4 separate regions of the Homo sapiens genome follow, and all the other regions are linked to region 2. Evidence: promoter capture Hi-C in 16 types of primary human blood cells and fetal thymus (Javierre and others, 2016). All regions are on one chromosome and are shown on one strand. Each heading gives the region's core, a stretch centred on a gene start or on the middle of the fragment in contact. The rest is flanking DNA. Distances are from core to core; before and after follow the strand shown. Region 1 has its middle 30 kb from the start of CP. Region 2 holds the start of HPS3 (HPS3 biogenesis of lysosomal organelles complex 2 subunit 1). Region 3 has its middle 9.9 kb from the start of CP. Region 4 overlaps CP (ceruloplasmin).

Region 1 (3,059 bases), core at 187-2,686, 120 kb before region 2:
CGTAGAGTGGGTGGAGTAGGGTGTTTGTTGAGCTGGTTGGGTGGGTTGGTGGGTGGCTGGTTGGTTGGTTGTTGGTTTTTGAAGACTGTACAGTGCATTGGGAAAAGGGTTGATCCAGAATCTGGAGACTTGGACTTTGGTCTTAACATTGTCATTTGTTAGCCGTATGACATTGGACAAGAAACTATTTCTCTGGCCTTAGTTTCCTCAACTCTAAAAGGAAGAGCTTGACTGGAATAACCCAATGAGGGTATCATGGAATTCTGTCATTCTCTAATTCTATAATGTCATTTTTAGCCCCCATGAAGTGATTAAATAACAATAGAGGAAAGGAAAGTTGAAAAAATTGCTTTTTTTTACGTGAATGAGCTGCTTCATGATTAATGCTTTGTTGGGTTTCAAAAGATATCAAGTACCAGTGAATTAAATACTCTTTCCTTTGTTACAAATACCTTGCAGCCATAAATGGATACATGTATGGAAATCTGCCTGGATTGGACACGTGCTTAGGAGACAACGTTTTGTGGCACGTTTTTAGTGTAGGATCAGTGGAAGATTTACACGGGATATATTTTTCAGGAAATACCTTCACTTCTTTAGGAGCAAGAAGGGACACAATACCTATGTTTCCTTATACTTCTCAGACGCTTTTGATGACACCTGATTCTATAGGTGAGCAGTGGGTCTTCTCATTCAGCCTGAAACATTAAAGTATGCAGAAGCACTATCTTTATACGCACTGAATATTCTGTACAGGAAAAAAAAATTGAACTGATACAAACAATGCTTGAGAAATCTTTGCCCTGCTCCACTTCATTTATAAGAGCCTTAGTATTTCATTTTCCTATACACATAAATCACCTCAGTTTTTTCAGGTCCTCTTCCTAGTCCTTCAGGCTTTAAACCATCCCAATGCTCTTCAAAAATGATGAAGATGTTTTAAACCCTTTAAACTCATTTTCATTCTGTTGTCTTCTGCATTTCTTACTCTTCTGTCCATTTGTTTCCCAGGCCTTCCTGCTGCTTCGACCTTACCCTACTGCCTTGTGACTTCCTCTTTCTATCCTCCTTACTAGCTTTGCTCTCTGGATAAATGTTTTAGCTTCAGTGAGGTTGATCCTTGCTGGCAACATTTTTTTTTTTTAAAGAAGGCACCCCATATCAAAGAACTGTGTGGGGATCAAAGGAAACCAGCCTTCCTTCTGAACCTCGTTTCCTCATTTGTAAAATAGGAATTGTAAAAACTTGTAATTTGCAAAAAGGAATAGACAGTGATCAATGAGATAGGTAAAGTATAGTAAACTGCCTGGCATATGTTAGACTTTCAATAAATGCTAGTTCCTTCTTTAATCCAGTAGATCCACCCTTGTCCCATATACCTGCCCCCCCGCCCCAAAATACATCTATCTTGGTCAAAAATGACTGATATCAACCAAAATCTGGCTATATGATAAACAAACTACTCTGTAAATACTATGAATTGGTATCTTGACTCTTTGTGATGCCAAATATTCATTTGACTACATTTTCTTCATTTCAAAATTTAAAATTTTACTTTTCAAACAAACAAAAGTTGTGATTCAGAGTAATTGGAGGGGAAAAGAAAGCGATCTTTGGCCCAGCGCGGTGGCTCACACCTGTAATCCCAGCACTTTGGGAGGCTGAGACGGGCGGATCATGAAGTCAGGAGATTGAGACCATCCTGGCTAACATGGTGAAACCTTGTGTCTACTAAAAATACAAAAAAATTAGCTGGGCATGGTGGCAGGCGCCTGTAGTCCCAGCTAGTCGGGAGGCTGAGGCTGGAGAATGGCATGAACTCAGGAGGCGGAGCTTGCAGTGAGCCGAGATCGTGCCACTGCACTCCAGCCTGGGCGACAGAGCAAGACTCGGTCTCACACACAAAAAAAAAAAAAAAAAAAAAAAAAGAGAGAGAGATCTTTCTCTGGTGCTTTTTTTTTTCCTCCTCTTTTTTAGAGGATGTACCTGCATGCTCATTCAGGGACAAGTTATTTCTTTTTCCTGCCCCAGTCCTTCCTCTCCTTTCCCCTGCAGGTGTTTTTCTGGATTTAAAAACTACCTTGTCTCATTCTCTTTTCCAAAGCATATCAACTGTAGCAAACAAGTGGAGACAGGTACACTATGTGTTAAACACGGTGCTAGAGCTTATACAGGGATTATGTCATTTTCAACAAATTCTTTTTCTCAAACCCTCTGAGTCTGAAGGTTTTGCTTCCTTGTACATCTTCCTAAACCTTACCCTCCACAAAAGTCACAGCAACAACAGAAATACGTAGAGTTGAAAGAGAGCTTTCGTCAAGAAGCAGTGTCAGCACGTGGTGGGCCTAAAATTACCAAGGTAAAAGAAAGAAAACTGGAATTCAGGTGGAATGTTCTGGTCAGAATCAGGCTAGAGTTTTTTTGTTATGGTGGTTTGTTTTTGTTTTTGTCATTGTTTTGGATTTTTAATGTATTTTTAATGTATTGAACTTTTTTTCACTCCCTCCTCTGCTACCTACCACTCTGATCAAAGCCATCATCTCTCATCGATTATTTTTAATAGCCTCTCAACAGATCCCGTTTCTTTCACCATTGTACACGCCAGCCTATTCTCAGCACAGCTGCTAGAGTGTCCTTATACCCTTCATTGACTTAAAATCCCACAGTGGCTCTCCATTTCACTTAGTGAATGCTATCATGTATTCAGTGGCCCACAAGGGCTCCATCACCTAGCCCTCTGCTCCCTAGTACTTTCACCCTTGCTCCCTCCCTCCAGACACACAGGCCTCTTGGGTGCTCTTCACACACACCAAACAGGCTCCTGGCCTGGGGCCTTTGCCACCTGTTTATTCTGCCTAGAGAGAACACACTTTTCCTCCAGACCCATATCATCTCTTATAAATTTTTGCCCAGGTATCACCCTCTCATCGAGGCCTACCCTGCTTACCCTATGATATTGCTCACTGCTCTCTTGAGCCCTTCCCAACACACACCCAGAATCCTCAGTCCTCCTTACACTGTTTTACTTTTTTTCTTTAATCATAGCTCTTATCACCTTC
Region 2 (3,031 bases), core at 525-3,024:
GAGACATGTAGTGAGCACATGCAGTGTGAAAAATGGAACTGGTAGATTTGCTCCACACAGAGTTGCCACAAACTTTCAATTGGGGAGAAAAAAACACGCAGTATCGGCAAAGTACAACAAAGTGAAATGCAAAAAAAACAAGGTATGCCTGTATATGTCTTTACTTGACAAAATAAGCAGTCAGATACTATGTATGGTAACCCCACAGTTTTTAATTGAGCCACGAAATCCCAGGGTCTGGATATCACTGATCTATTTATTCAACTTTTTGTTTTTTTTTTTTTTTTTTAACATAAACTCAGACCCCAAGGTTTCTATAAACTCACACCGAACCAGCTGCGGGGTAGGGATTAGAGAGAGATCTCCAATCTTCCAGGTTCAAGTTCTCCACTTCATTAATAGCATAGCCACCAGCTTTTGCAACGTAAATACTGAACTTTACACCCATCTTGTAAAGTATGAATCGAAGGTAAGTGTATTAAAGGAATTATATGGTAAATTCTTCTGTAATCTAAAAGGGATCTAGTTTTAAATGTTGGATTTTTCTAAAATAGGATTCACCCACACAGTATTTCCTTGGTATTGCTTCACATTTCTGGTGTGAAAGAGTAACGGCTGCTCTTACAACTGTTTGTTTTTGTTTGTTTTGGGACGGAGTCTCACTCTGTCGCCTAAACTGGAGTGCAATGGGGCAATCTCCGCCTCCCCGGTTCAAGCGATTCTCCTGCCTCAGCCTCCCAAGTAGCTGAGACTACAGGCGCCCACCACCACGTCCGGCTAATTTTTGTATTTTTAGTACAGACGGGGTTTCAATAAATTGACCAGGCTGGTCTCGAACTCCTAACATCGTGATCCGCCTGCCTCAGCCTCCCAAAGTGTTGGGATTACAGGCGTGAGCCACTGCGCCCGGCCACAGATGTTTAAGAGAAGAGAGGGGGGCAGTCTGAGTTCTACTTACACACATTTAAAAATCAACACATAATGTGAGCTTTCAAAAACCGACCGGAAGTAGATGGAGGTACAGATGTGAAAGAACTGCCAAGAGTTGGAATAATTGTTAAAGCTGGGAGTACTTGGAGGTTCCGGGATACAGTACTAGTCTCCTTATTCCTACTTGTTTTTTTGGTAAGTCTTTGAAATCTGATGCACTAAAGAGTTTTTTGTTGTTGTTTGCTTAAGTATCCGAGATGAGTGGAATCCAGCCAGAGGCCTTTCTGCAGAAAACCAAGACGAAGAGATGTCAGCGTCTCCGCCCCGACAGAAGCAAGCTCATACCTATGCTTGCCGCGACAACCGCATAGCTCAATGCGACTTCAAGCAATCAGCGGCCAGACCCAGGGAGACCATCCGGCAAATTCCGGGAAGCAAGAAGTCCCATCCCTAGCTAGAGCTACAGCCCAGACGTTCGGTCCGCTAGCTAGGAGGCCTCAAGCTGGACCCCAGGCGGCCCCTGGCTCTCTAGATTACTCACCAGCCTCGCTGTAGGCCAGGCGCAACACCCGGCCCAGCGTGGAGAAGGCGCACCGCGGCTGGCACAGCTCCTGGCCGGCCACCGCGAACGCCTCCACCTTGCAGCCCGCCGCCACGAAAAGCGCGTCACGCCCCCCGCCACAGAACCGGTCCGGCTCCAGCTTGCAGGGCACCACCTGCTGCGACCCGAACGGGTGCAGGTTGTACAGCTGCACCATCCCGACGTCCGGCGGGATGGCACAGCCTGCCCGCCCTGCAGGGCGCCCGGAGACCCCGCGCTGACCGCGAATGTAGGACTACTTCCGCGAGCGAGCCAATGACGCCGGGTCACGTGAACGCCAGCCGGCCCCGCCCGCGGCTCCGCTACTTAAAGAGGCCGCCGCGGGGCGTGGCAGGCGTCGGGAAAGCGGTCACGCCAGCCTGGTCAGCCCGCGCTCTGGCGCTGCAGTGCTTTCGGTCTCTGCGCCTCCCACTCCGCCGCGCGAGCTTGCCACTGCTCTATGCTCAGTGGCCGGTGGGTGCGGGGACCGCTGGGTCCCTGCCTTTCGTCTTTTACTGCTTTGGGCCAGGCGGTATGTTTTGGCTTTTGAGTACGTTCTGACAATTCATCATCTATCTTGTAACATTTTGTACTTACTTTGAGGAGCGTTATTCATGTCTCTTCAGTAGTCCCTGAGCTTCTGGAGGATGGGGTTGCAAAAACTGAAATGGGGTGCAACTCGGGGCTAAACACTCTGAAGAGTTGCTTTAAAATAATGGAAATTCTAGAATAGTTCAGCTGGAAAGAGCAAAGCCTTGAACGTGCTTGGCAAAAAGATATTTGTTGAAAGAAAGAATCCATGGACTTCATCTTGTAGGCATTTGACAAAAGACTAGTTTGAGCCCCAGAGGATAGAAGAACTAGGAGGGAAATCCCCTGGCTTTCAGTCCAGTGCTCCTAAAACTATGCAGTAAATTATCTATTCCTGACATCTCAACGTGGAGTTCACGATCGCAACACTTTCCCTTTTCTAAAAAAATCAGATTTAGATAAAACAAGTAGTATAACTTTGTCCAGTTCACCTAGAAAATATATGTGTTAGCATGGATTGAGGGATGCTGTTTTATTTAGGCACACAGGGACATAAATGAAAGTGCAACATTTTCTTCAGTCAGTTTCCAGTTCAGAATTTGTAAATTAGATGCAATTGGATTGAAGTTAAACTTGCCTCCCTTTCCTAGGCCCTTCAGATGAATAAAGTACCTCTAAGTAATGGGAAACAACAGGTTCGTCAAACTCAGTGAGTTAGAGAAGTAAACATGGAGGTAGCTCAGGTCAGGAACTAGGGCTGCAAAAAATCACAGAAGGCTCCTATGGAAAACAACCAGACTAATAGTCCACAAGTTATTTGTTCTAGATACAAAACTTAAGAGCAAATATCAAAATCAATAGTAAAAAAGATTCCTTTCCACAAGTATCTGCCATATTATTCTTTTTGGCTTAATTTTCTTCTTCAAGACTTAATTATCCTAATTCAATTTTCTCCTAATGAAGACTGATATTAACTTTAGTGTAATTTCA
Region 3 (2,929 bases), core at 110-2,609, 100 kb before region 2:
CCAACTCTGTCTCTAGTAAGAAACAGCTCAGTCTTCCTCCTGTCTGCCTTCCGATATCTGCAGGGAGTCTTGAGAGCTTAAATGTCTTCTATTCACCCCAACTCTAACTTCCTGCTTCTGCTCATCTCCCTTGCCTCTCAACTCCTATAGCTGGTGTTTTTTCATAACTGTGTGCAATTCCAAACATGGAGCACATCCCATTTCCTTTGGTACTCTTAAGCAACCACAAAATCAAGGCCATTGTGAGTTACAGACTTTTAGTGAAAGAGTGGGGATAAACGAAGTTTTTTTTTCAGTACTACATAATGAAAGCACTTACCATTGTTGGGCATTTGGGTTGGTTCCAAGTCTTTGCTATTGTGAATAATGCCTCAATAAACATACGTGTGCATGTGTCTTTATAGCAGCATGATTTAGAGTTCTTTGGGTATATACCCAGTAATGGGATGGCTGGGTCAAATGGTATTTCTAGTTCTAGATCCCTGAGGAATCGCCACACTGACTTCCACAATGGTTGAACTAGTTTACAACCCAAATGCCCAACAATGATAGACTGGATTAAGAAAATGTGGCACATATACACCATGGAATACTATGCAGCCATAAAAAATGATGAGTTCATGTCCTTTGTAGGGACATGGATGAAATTGGAAAGCATCATTCTCAGTAAACTATCGCAAGAACAAAAAACCAAACACCGCATATTCTCACTGATAGGTGGGAATTGAACAATGAGATCACATGGACACAGGAAGGGGAATATCACACTCTGGGGACTGTGGTGGGGTGGGAGGAGGGGGGAGGGATAACATTGGGAGATATACCTAATGCTAGATGACGAGTTAGTGGGTGCAGCGCACCAGCAAGGCACATGTATACATATGTAACTAACCTGAACAATGTGCACATGTACCCTAAAACTTAAAGTATAATAATAATAATAATAAAAAAAGAAAGCACTTACCATTTGACATTAGATGTCCCACCCCCAATTACCCTTTCACCATGCATCACTGAGAGCCTCTAGCTCGTTTGCCTTTTACTCTCACCCTCAGGACTTGTTTCTCCACATTTTTCCTCTCTAGACTCTCTGACATCCCTTCTCTCCTGAAATTATTCAGAACTCTTGAGCTGCAGTTCCCCAATCCACCCCCACCACCATCCTGCAAATACTTCCTATTTTATTTTGTAGAGCAATTCACCTTCCTTTTAGTCTCTTCCAATCCACCCGGACTAGGCCCTAGGACTTCATATCTAAAATTCTAAGCAGCCTACAGAGGTAGTTTCCTAAACATTGGGTTCTCTGCTTAGGAGAGAAATTAGCTAAAAAGTGCCCTCAGCCCTCAGCCCTCAGGCCCAATCTCCAGAAGGCAAACTTGGCTGCAGATGCCAAGGGAGCTCCTCCTCCCTTCTCCTCCCTCTCCCCTTCTCTTTCCTGTAACAATGAGTTTTTCTGATTAGCTGTATCTCAAGAAATGACAATCCTTCACATCAACATGTTATGTCACATCAACGTAACATCCCAAGTTAGAAATATGTCACTTAGAACCTTTGGGATTTGAGACTAGAAGTTCTCTGAAATCTAGAGCGCTCGGTCGTGTGAGACATTGGCAAGTTTCTAACACCAATACGAAACTACAGGTACCCTTGTAGAGTGAAACATTTTCTTTGCATTCTATCTAACACCAGAATGTCCTGGGTCTTAGTTCTCCTCCAAAGCCTCAAGTGCACTCAGAGAAGAGAACAAAATAGCTTTAATAGCTTAATGATTTCCTTTCCTTTCCCTCTTCCCTTCCCTTTTCTTCTCCCTCCTCTCCCCTCCCCTCCCCTCCCCTCCTTTCTCTTGCCATCCACTCCCTTCCCCTCCCCTTCCCTTTCCTTTCCCTTTTCAGATGGGATCTTGCTCTGTCACCCAGGCTGGAATACTGGAGTGCAGTGGCATGATCACAGTTTACTGCAGCCTTGAACTGGGCTCAAGCAATCCTTCCACCTCAGCCTCCCAGGTAGCTGGGACTACTGGCACACACTACTGCCTGGCTAATTTTTAAAATATATTTTTTTTTAGAGATGAGGAGCTCAGGCTGGTCTTGAACTCCTGAGCTCAAGTCATCCTCCCCTGCCACCCCAGCCTCCCAAGTAGCAGATTACAGACATAAGCCACCGTGCCCAGCCCAGCACCTAATGCTTTCTAATTGTCACCTAATTAGGTATATTAGAATTTGGGAATTATAGCAAGTGGTAAGTGATATCTTTTATAAGCGATGTAATGATGTTTAATCTCCTTGTTAAGAATTAGGGAGTGTATCAATCTGATGTTTATGACCTTCCTCCTGGGGTCTATCGAACTGTAAAAATGTATCGAAGAGATGTTGGAACCTGGTTATTTTATTGCCATGTTTTTGAGCACATTGGTGCTGGAATGGAAAGCACTTACACTGTACTTGAAAGAAAAGGTAAGATCCATTGGCTAAATTAATTAGAAGTGATATTTAAACAAATGCAGTGTTTATGTAAGGATATTTAATGCATTGAACATTCATATAATGTGATGTGCCATTCATTCATTCAAAGATTACTATTTTGAGATGACTGAGATACTCTAGTTTTATTTTCTTTGTAAAACTCAGATAACTTTTCATGATCTGATAAAATATACTCTAGAGTTAAATGTAATTTCCAGATTCACATAAGATATACATATAAGGTATAAACAGACAATTCATAGAAGATCAAAAACAAATATCTTTTGAACCTATAAAAATATCCAAACTTGCCAATAATCAAATCACTTCAAAATCACATTTAAGCAACAATAAAATACCTTTTTGAGTATATGTTGGCAAATATTTATCTATTTTTAATGATAGCATCAATAGCAGTGTGGTGAGATAGGGTGCATTGCATATACTTTGGTGGATGTGTTAATTGG
Region 4 (2,916 bases), core at 46-2,545, 80 kb before region 2:
TTTTTGTTTTTGTTGTTGTTTAGGGATAAATTACATTCATAGCATAAAAGGCTGACTGCCATCCTATTTCTTTTTAATGATTTCATGGCTTACTAGGGAATTACCATTCATTTTAAAGGTATGGTAATGGAACTGTGGTTTTGTTAGAAGAAAAAAAGGGTTCCTATCTTTTAGAGATACATACTCAAGTATTTATGAATGGAATATGATGTCTGAGACGTGCTTTAAAATAATTTGATGATACTGGGGATAAGAGTGTGTGGGGGTACAGATGAAACAAGGTTGGCCTTGAGTCGATCATTGTTAAAGCTGGTTTGATGGGTACACAGAGGTTCAGCATTTTCTTCTCTCAACCTTTGTGTGTGTTTGGAAATTTCCAAAATTGAGAGTAGAAATGTTTTTAATTTTATGGTTACTTCGTGGGCAAAAATCTGAGATCATATAAGAAGTTTTGAATTTAGAAGAGGGTAGCCTTTTTGCTCAGACTCCCATACCATGACCCGAGTTCTTTACATTGCAAACAAAAAGTCATTATGCTCTCTGAAAACCCAATCAAATATAAAAAAATAATAAAAATGTCTGTGAAGCTTCTACACACCCTAGCCATTAGCCTTTCATTTTCCTGTGTCCAAATAGGATAACACATCCCCAAGGATCACATAGTAGATGTTTAATAAATGTTTGCTGAATGAATTAATGGACTATCTATTCTCTCATTTAAGTTCAAACACATTCACTTTGCACCTTCATTGCATGTTGCTTCCTAGGGGCCATCTACCCTGATAACACCACAGATTTTCAAAGAGCAGATGACAAAGTATATCCAGGAGAGCAGTATACATACATGTTGCTTGCCACTGAAGAACAAAGTCCTGGGGAAGGAGATGGCAATTGTGTGACTAGGATTTACCATTCCCACATTGATGCTCCAAAAGATATTGCCTCAGGACTCATCGGACCTTTAATAATCTGTAAAAAAGGTACATCTTCTCCTTATTGCACATGCTATATGACCAAAAGACAGGGGCAGGGCAGTTTGTCTTTTAAAAAGAAATCAAGTCTTCTGTGCTGAGATTGAGCAGGTAAGGTAGAGAGGTGGTAAGTAGAAAAAAAGGAAGGGAAGAGCCAGGCAGGACTAGGAGAAGAAGGGATAAATAGAACAAGCATTCCTACGGGGAAAATGCCAATGAAGGTAATGTGAAAGAAATATATTCTCTCAGGGTTCAGTTTGCTGTATCTAACTTCCAACAGTGGTGCTGAAGAGACATATGACTTTACCAAATGTGACTACCAAAAGGGCACTCCACGGTGATAGATCTGTAGTTACTCATACTATATTGGTAAACATAATATCATAGTATTTATTTCTAACATCATGAAAAAGACAACGGAGCTCAAGAGCCTGAAATACAATTCTAACTTGAACAATCGTTACCTGTAAAGACTTGTCTCTGTTTGTGGCTATATGCACCAGAAAATAGACGCACAACTTTGAATTCCAATCTTCCCATTTGCCAAAAAGCATTTAATAGTTATGTGGTCAGTGGACATCCAGACACAGGAGTGTCTTCCAAGCACCAGATACTGATCATAAAAATTCCCTGAGTGTTTCTGTCTGTAAAACAGGAGTGACTGGTCCAGACTTGTGATTTATTCGAAAAAATAAATACTAACATTTTTAAAAACTATAAATCACCTGAAAACATAAATCAAAATACATGCTAAAAGTTTAGTCTTGCTAAAATAGTAACTTTAACTCCAGATTCTCTAGATAAAGAAAAAGAAAAACATATTGACCGAGAATTTGTGGTGATGTTTTCTGTGGTGGATGAAAATTTCAGCTGGTACCTAGAAGACAACATTAAAACCTACTGCTCAGAACCAGAGAAAGTTGACAAAGACAACGAAGACTTCCAGGAGAGTAACAGAATGTATTGTAAGATTACAGCAGACATGTTAACTTTACTTTTTTTTCCCTTGATCCATTAATTCTGCTAAGCTTATTCCCTCACATAAATAAGTACTGTGTGTCTAGTCTGTGGTCCTTATAACAAAGCATATTGGATGTGCAATTTGATATTCAGCTAAGTAAGTCAGAATAAAAACTCTAAGCCAGGTAAAGCCAGATACACCAAACTTGTTCCCCAACTGGTAAGGATAAAGCATCAATTATGGTTTAATGCATATGTATGTGACATTAATATATTTATTTATCCACTAGACTCATTCTAAAAATTATTTGAGGCAGCTCCAAATTATTAAACTAAATGCTTAAAACCATATTATATTTTAAAGCATCTAACTATATTTAAGAAAATAGTTCAAACCACGAGTTCTGAAAGGTATTCGTTTTACATACTATGTTGCCCTCACTGGGCCCCTTAGTCTGCATCATTCGTTTCTACATTTCAGTTCACTTTACTTTTCTAGAAATGCTTTTTTTACAGTTTAGACTTTTTCTTAATTCTCAGACACAAAATAATGAGCTTAGTAAGATTATCTATTTCTCATAATTTGCATGAGAAACAGAGTCCCTTAACAACAACTAGACCAATAAGTAGATATTTTCGTTTATTTGTTTGTGTTTAACTTCTTCAAAATAACCTGTACTCAGAAACCGAGAGCACAAAAATAACGATACTACCAAAGTAGAAAAATAAACTAGTTAACAAAGTACAGATTTTGTTTCCAACTTTTACTTATATCTGGGTGGAAGGTCCTCTTTCCATACTTTAATCCTGTCTCTGTTGTGTACTAACAAAAATAGTTGTTATAAAAAGATACTCAAAATTCTAGCCTGAGCAGGTTTGATTTGGTACCAGTGTTACATGTGGTGCACTCAGGATTCTTCCCAGAACTAATTTCCACTTGGGAAATTTTTAGGGCCACCCAGTTTGAACAGTGACCATAAGTTTC

The links. The method cuts DNA at HindIII sites, captures the fragments that hold promoters and counts their contacts. A CHiCAGO score of 5 or more calls a contact.
Region 1: a contact is called between a fragment that was not itself captured here and the fragment with the promoter of HPS3 in region 2, in 10 of 17 cell types (total B cells, naive B cells, M2 macrophages and 7 more). The highest score is 13.8, in total B cells.
Region 3: a fragment that was not itself captured here is called in contact with the fragment with the promoter of HPS3 in region 2 in 4 of 17 cell types (total B cells, naive B cells, M1 macrophages and 1 more); the score reaches 6.8 in total B cells.
Region 4: a contact is called between a fragment that was not itself captured here and the fragment with the promoter of HPS3 in region 2, in 1 of 17 cell types (total B cells). The highest score is 5.6, in total B cells.

Annotation. Positions count from the first base shown.
Region 1 is chr3:149,250,459-149,253,517 of GRCh38, reverse strand. It overlaps the pseudogene CPHL1P. Among named protein-coding and RNA genes, the nearest start is that of CP, 30 kb to the right of the region's middle. The HindIII fragment of the contact is 5,460 bases long and covers 1-3,059 here.
Region 2 is chr3:149,128,381-149,131,411 of GRCh38, reverse strand. HPS3 (HPS3 biogenesis of lysosomal organelles complex 2 subunit 1) reads right to left here and starts at 1,774. Exons shown (of 17, transcript NM_032383.5): 1 at 1,472-1,774. The coding sequence starts at 1,688. RefSeq lists enhancers at 1,233-1,732, 1,514-1,773. The HindIII fragment of the contact is 10,979 bases long and covers 1-3,031 here.
Region 3 is chr3:149,230,263-149,233,191 of GRCh38, reverse strand. No RefSeq gene overlaps it. Among named protein-coding and RNA genes, the nearest start is that of CP, 9.9 kb to the right of the region's middle. The HindIII fragment of the contact is 5,487 bases long and covers 1-2,929 here.
Region 4 is chr3:149,208,231-149,211,146 of GRCh38, reverse strand. It overlaps CP (ceruloplasmin), which reads left to right. Exons shown (of 19, transcript NM_000096.4): 3 at 768-980; 4 at 1,763-1,936. Among named protein-coding and RNA genes, the nearest start is that of CP, 12 kb to the left of the region's middle. The HindIII fragment of the contact is 1,412 bases long and covers 590-2,001 here.